Linked DNA regions of Homo sapiens: region 1 is linked to region 2. Evidence: promoter capture Hi-C in 16 types of primary human blood cells and fetal thymus (Javierre and others, 2016). All regions are on one chromosome and are shown on one strand. Each heading gives the region's core, a stretch centred on a gene start or on the middle of the fragment in contact. The rest is flanking DNA. Distances are from core to core; before and after follow the strand shown. Region 1 overlaps LOC105378758 (a long non-coding RNA gene). Region 2 holds the start of JUN (Jun proto-oncogene, AP-1 transcription factor subunit).

Region 1 (2,939 bases), core at 81-2,580, 1.0 Mb before region 2:
GCCACATGGAACTGTAAGTTCAATTAAAGCTCTTTCTTTTGTAAATTTCTCAGTCTCTGGTATGTCTTTATCAGCAGCATGAAAATGGACTAATACATAAGGCAACTGCCCATCAGGAGTTGTAGTCATAAAAAGAGCAGCTACAGTTAGACAGTTGGTATTGAGGCAGTGGGGAGGGAGTACCTCTTGTTGGCTGAACCAAATAGAAAGCCAGAGGGCAATGGGAGCCTGGGTGGCACGGTTTTTAGGGTCAACCTCCCAGGACAGGAAGTAGGACAGAAAAGCAAGGCAAATGGATCTAGGTGACCAAACAAAAAATAAAGAGCATATTTACTTCTTTGTTTATTTCAAAACAATTCATGAAGCAGCATTATTATCCACATTTTGCAAATGAAGATATCGAAGTAGTCAAGTTTAAATAACTTGCTGAAAGTCACCTAGCTCCTAAATGGCAGACCTAAGATTTAAATTCATGTCTTCTAGGTCCACTTACATTCTTTTATACCAGAATGTCTGTCTTACATTTTACGTATAGGACCTGCCTTATATTTAAGACAGCCCGAATCTTGTAAATGATCATGCCTTCCACTTTCAATTAGACTATCAGGAAACTTAGAGTCAAATTCTAAGTCCCCTTTCCTAAGTGTGCCGGATCTTATAGCTTGTATTTCTTAGTGGCCTTGTCTTAATTTTTGATTTTACTTTCCCATTGCCCTGATTTCTTTATCACTGTATATTACCTATATTTTCTTCCGTATCATTTTTGACGAAGTGAATGATAAACAAATGAATAAATAGTTCTGTAACCTTGAGCCTATGCTTAATCAGCCTTTTCTGTAATAGAGAACCATTACTGTCACTATATAGGGGTTGTGAACGCCCCAGTTCCACCCCTAAACACATATATCCATGATCTCTGCTTTAGAGTTTGTTTACAATCACAGCCTTTTTGTAACCCAGCAGCCACTACCAATCAATTAGTATTGGCAGAATAATTAAAACCAAGTTGATATGCTTGGTGTAATATGACCAGTAAATTAACTGATAATATTGTAGGATCTTTAATATGGTAATGCCCTATGGAGAGCAGCTACTGTGTTTAATAGAGGACGCTCAGAAAGCTTTTAACCCAAGCTCCTTGTATGTGATGAGCATCATTATAGTCTGAATGCTTCCCAAACTTCAAGTACTTAAGTAAATGGCAAATTGAGCAATATGTGAATGCACTCTGTCCTCTAATAATTATTTTTTCTCCCCCAGACTTAAATTTGTGGCATTATTCCAAGGATATCTCAATGGTTGTTTTTTTTTAAGTGCTATACTATTTGGTTCTTTCATCCTAGATAAAGACCTATTTGGCCTTATTAATATGATTAGCTCCAATAAAGCTGTAGGGTCACAATTCCATTATCTAATATCCTGAAGCAGCACTACAACACCATTCAGGAGAGAGTGGAATTAATTTAAGCAATTCAAGACTTGGATTCTATTCAAGACCATTTAGTGAAGGTTTCCAAAGAACAATTTAAAGAAGCTTTGCCCATAAGATTATAATGACATGAGTCACTATAATTATCAAAATGTTACTGATGTATAAGTTTCTTATAGTTTTATAAATATTTATAGAGTATGTGTTTTCACATATATTTTCTCATAACTCAAGATAAAGCTTTAACAAGTTTCCTTTTAACATACATATCTCCCTATGTGTGTATAAATATATAATCAAGAGTTTGATTCTCTGGGGGAAGTATCAAAACTGGCTGATGTGCATCACTAAGATATTCTTTAAGCAAACCGGTCACCTTCTATTCTGTTGTGTGAAATTCAGGTGCATTGGTCTGTGAGCCTTGCTTAAGCTGACAGCCTGGCGCTTTCTGTTTCTCCCCAAGTTGAGTATATGAGACTCTGACATTGACACAGATATGGCTATTTCAGCTTCAGAAACATTCTATTCTTTGACATATTTTAGAATTAAAATTAAGAAAATGTTCAAGATTCTGACCCCTTTCAATCTAGTATCTTCCTTGATTTTGTTCTTTTCCATGTTCTTTCCACTGTTCCAATTGTTTCAAAGATGAACAACAAACATTTGATGATGTTTTTACATTTTAAAGTTTGCTCCTTTATCACCTCATTATATTTCCATTATCATTCTGTGTAGTGCTATCAAGACTCACATTTTCCCAATGAAAATATTAATGTTCTGACATTCAGAACCAGACATGCTCCAGGAGGACTGGCAGACCCAATGGTGCCATGCTCATTGGTGTTCACCATTTATTATAGATTCAAAAATATCTGTGGACAACCCATTCCTGATATTGTGAGAAATACAAAGATATACAGAACACTTCAGTAAATGTCCTCTATGCTCCAGGAGTAATTTGAAGGCACCATACTTCTTACTTCCAAGGCCCTCCCAGGTGCTATTTTCTCTGCTTAGAAGACTTGTGGGGCACAGTGGCTCATGCCTGTAACCTCACTGCTTTGGGAGGCTGAGGCAGGATTATTGCTTGAGCCCAGGAGTTCAAGACCAGCCTGGGCAACATAGTGAGACCCTGTCTGTACAAAAAAATTTAAAGATTAGCCAGGTGTGGTGGCCTGTGCCTGTGGTCCCAGCTACTTGGGAGGCGGAAGCAGGAGGATTGCATGAACCTGAGAGATCAAGGCTGCAGTGAGCTGTAACTGCACTATTGCACTCCAGCCTGGGTGACAGAGTGCGACACTGTCTCTAAAAATAAAAATAAAAAAAGACTCACTCTAACTTTTCTGAACTCTTCTTCACTTCTCTAAACTCCATGAAGTGAGTATCAGCTCTGCATTAACTACTGTATTCCCTGTCACTAGCAAAGTACATTGGTAAATGCTCATTTAGTATTTTTTGAATGATTGAACTCAGCCTATTATCTTGTTGCCTCTTGCTGCCCCTGTAGTAA
Region 2 (2,986 bases), core at 180-2,679:
GGAAATGAAGCTCGGAGGAGTTCCGTGATTTGCTTGCTTCACACTGTGGTAGCCTGGCCACGAAAGAACCAGGATTCCCGACTTCGGGATTCTTTCCACCACACACTTTCGTCCCTAAGGGGTGGGGGGCGGGGGGAGAATAAAATAACCGCGGAAAAGGAACCACTTACATGTGTCTAGCGCTTCCTAGAGGCTACCCAGGATATGCGCCCACCACCCGGCCGGGAGTGCAGAGATTTGAAGTCCAGGTTCTACCCCGGGCTCCGAGTACTACTGCGTGACTTTATGCGAGTGTCCGCCGCCTTCTGGGCTTGTTTTCCCGGAAGCAACTCGGCGCGGATGGAGTGTGTGTGTGCGCGCGCGCGCGCGTTATGTTGTGCGTGTTGTGTTAAGCGTGTGCGTGTTGTCCGGGGGCGGGAGGGGGAGTAGACTAACACCGGGGTTCCCCGAGTTTCGGATCGCCTACACGCTTGTTCCCATCTGGACCCTGTTACCCACCAATTGCGCCCACTATAAAAACTGCCCCTCCGAGGCAAAGCTGTGAACCCCCGCGCCCTTTCCCCCACGGTCCCGGAGGATGAAGTGGGGTGCAACGGAGACTCAGCTGAGCGTCCAGTTTCGGGCAATACAAATCTCTCGGCTTCTACGAGCAGCCAGACGACCCCGCGGACCGTCGCTCCTGAACTTGACCGAGATGCAAACTTCGGAGTGTTCTCAACGTGGGGGGCCGACTCTCGGGAGACCGCCCCTAAACTTAAGTCCCCTTAGGCTCGCCCCCACCTGGGACTTCACAGAGCCACCTTAAGGGCGGTATTCCCGCCCCCCCGGAAGTGCGGGGGGGTGGCAGCGTACTTGGATTCTCAGCCTCCAGCCCCGCGCGGTGGCGGCCGCCGGTGGATGACTTCGGGCCCCACAAGTGGGGAAACAACAACCACCCCTCGCCCGCACCCCTGGCCCAAAACAACTGGCCAGGTTCCCTGGCCTCCCGGGTCCCTGCATCCCCCGCATCCCCGTCCGCAGCCGTGAACTTGAGCCCCCCTCCATCAGAGGTTGCGAGCGTCCGCCCGCTCGCGGCAGCCACCGTCACTAGACAGTCAAACCCCAAGACGTCAGCCCACAATGCACCGGGCGGGCCGGGAAAAACGGCCCGGGGAGGGGACCGGGGAAGAGAGGGCCGAGAGGCGTGCGGCAGGGGGGAGGGTAGGAGAAAGAAGGGCCCGACTGTAGGAGGGCAGCGGAGCATTACCTCATCCCGTGAGCCTCCGCGGGCCCAGAGAAGAATCTTCTAGGGTGGAGTCTCCATGGTGACGGGCGGGCCCGCCCCCCTGAGAGCGACGCGAGCCAATGGGAAGGCCTTGGGGTGACATCATGGGCTATTTTTAGGGGTTGACTGGTAGCAGATAAGTGTTGAGCTCGGGCTGGATAAGGGCTCAGAGTTGCACTGAGTGTGGCTGAAGCAGCGAGGCGGGAGTGGAGGTGCGCGGAGTCAGGCAGACAGACAGACACAGCCAGCCAGCCAGGTCGGCAGTATAGTCCGAACTGCAAATCTTATTTTCTTTTCACCTTCTCTCTAACTGCCCAGAGCTAGCGCCTGTGGCTCCCGGGCTGGTGTTTCGGGAGTGTCCAGAGAGCCTGGTCTCCAGCCGCCCCCGGGAGGAGAGCCCTGCTGCCCAGGCGCTGTTGACAGCGGCGGAAAGCAGCGGTACCCACGCGCCCGCCGGGGGAAGTCGGCGAGCGGCTGCAGCAGCAAAGAACTTTCCCGGCTGGGAGGACCGGAGACAAGTGGCAGAGTCCCGGAGCCAACTTTTGCAAGCCTTTCCTGCGTCTTAGGCTTCTCCACGGCGGTAAAGACCAGAAGGCGGCGGAGAGCCACGCAAGAGAAGAAGGACGTGCGCTCAGCTTCGCTCGCACCGGTTGTTGAACTTGGGCGAGCGCGAGCCGCGGCTGCCGGGCGCCCCCTCCCCCTAGCAGCGGAGGAGGGGACAAGTCGTCGGAGTCCGGGCGGCCAAGACCCGCCGCCGGCCGGCCACTGCAGGGTCCGCACTGATCCGCTCCGCGGGGAGAGCCGCTGCTCTGGGAAGTGAGTTCGCCTGCGGACTCCGAGGAACCGCTGCGCACGAAGAGCGCTCAGTGAGTGACCGCGACTTTTCAAAGCCGGGTAGCGCGCGCGAGTCGACAAGTAAGAGTGCGGGAGGCATCTTAATTAACCCTGCGCTCCCTGGAGCGAGCTGGTGAGGAGGGCGCAGCGGGGACGACAGCCAGCGGGTGCGTGCGCTCTTAGAGAAACTTTCCCTGTCAAAGGCTCCGGGGGGCGCGGGTGTCCCCCGCTTGCCACAGCCCTGTTGCGGCCCCGAAACTTGTGCGCGCAGCCCAAACTAACCTCACGTGAAGTGACGGACTGTTCTATGACTGCAAAGATGGAAACGACCTTCTATGACGATGCCCTCAACGCCTCGTTCCTCCCGTCCGAGAGCGGACCTTATGGCTACAGTAACCCCAAGATCCTGAAACAGAGCATGACCCTGAACCTGGCCGACCCAGTGGGGAGCCTGAAGCCGCACCTCCGCGCCAAGAACTCGGACCTCCTCACCTCGCCCGACGTGGGGCTGCTCAAGCTGGCGTCGCCCGAGCTGGAGCGCCTGATAATCCAGTCCAGCAACGGGCACATCACCACCACGCCGACCCCCACCCAGTTCCTGTGCCCCAAGAACGTGACAGATGAGCAGGAGGGCTTCGCCGAGGGCTTCGTGCGCGCCCTGGCCGAACTGCACAGCCAGAACACGCTGCCCAGCGTCACGTCGGCGGCGCAGCCGGTCAACGGGGCAGGCATGGTGGCTCCCGCGGTAGCCTCGGTGGCAGGGGGCAGCGGCAGCGGCGGCTTCAGCGCCAGCCTGCACAGCGAGCCGCCGGTCTACGCAAACCTCAGCAACTTCAACCCAGGCGCGCTGAGCAGCGGCGGCGGGGCGCCCTCCTACGGCGCGGCCGG

Evidence for each region. The method cuts DNA at HindIII sites, captures the fragments that hold promoters and counts their contacts. A CHiCAGO score of 5 or more calls a contact.
Region 1: a fragment that was not itself captured here is called in contact with the fragment with the promoter of JUN in region 2 in 1 of 17 cell types (erythroblasts); the score reaches 5.1 in erythroblasts.

Annotation. Positions count from the first base shown.
Region 1 is chr1:59,782,571-59,785,509 of GRCh38, reverse strand. All of the region lies in intron 4 of LOC105378758 (a long non-coding RNA gene), which reads left to right. All of the region lies in intron 2 of LOC101926944 (a long non-coding RNA gene), which reads right to left. Among named protein-coding and RNA genes, the nearest start is that of HOOK1, 31 kb to the left of the region's middle. The HindIII fragment of the contact is 413 bases long and covers 1,124-1,536 here.
Region 2 is chr1:58,782,490-58,785,475 of GRCh38, reverse strand. It overlaps JUN (Jun proto-oncogene, AP-1 transcription factor subunit), which reads left to right and starts at 1,429. Exons shown (of 1, transcript NM_002228.4): 1 at 1,429-2,986. The coding sequence starts at 2,406. JUN-DT (JUN divergent transcript) reads right to left here and starts at 325. Exons shown (of 2, transcript NR_108106.1): 1 at 171-325. RefSeq lists enhancers at 238-983, 1,210-1,469, 984-1,731. The HindIII fragment of the contact is 7,855 bases long and covers 1-2,986 here.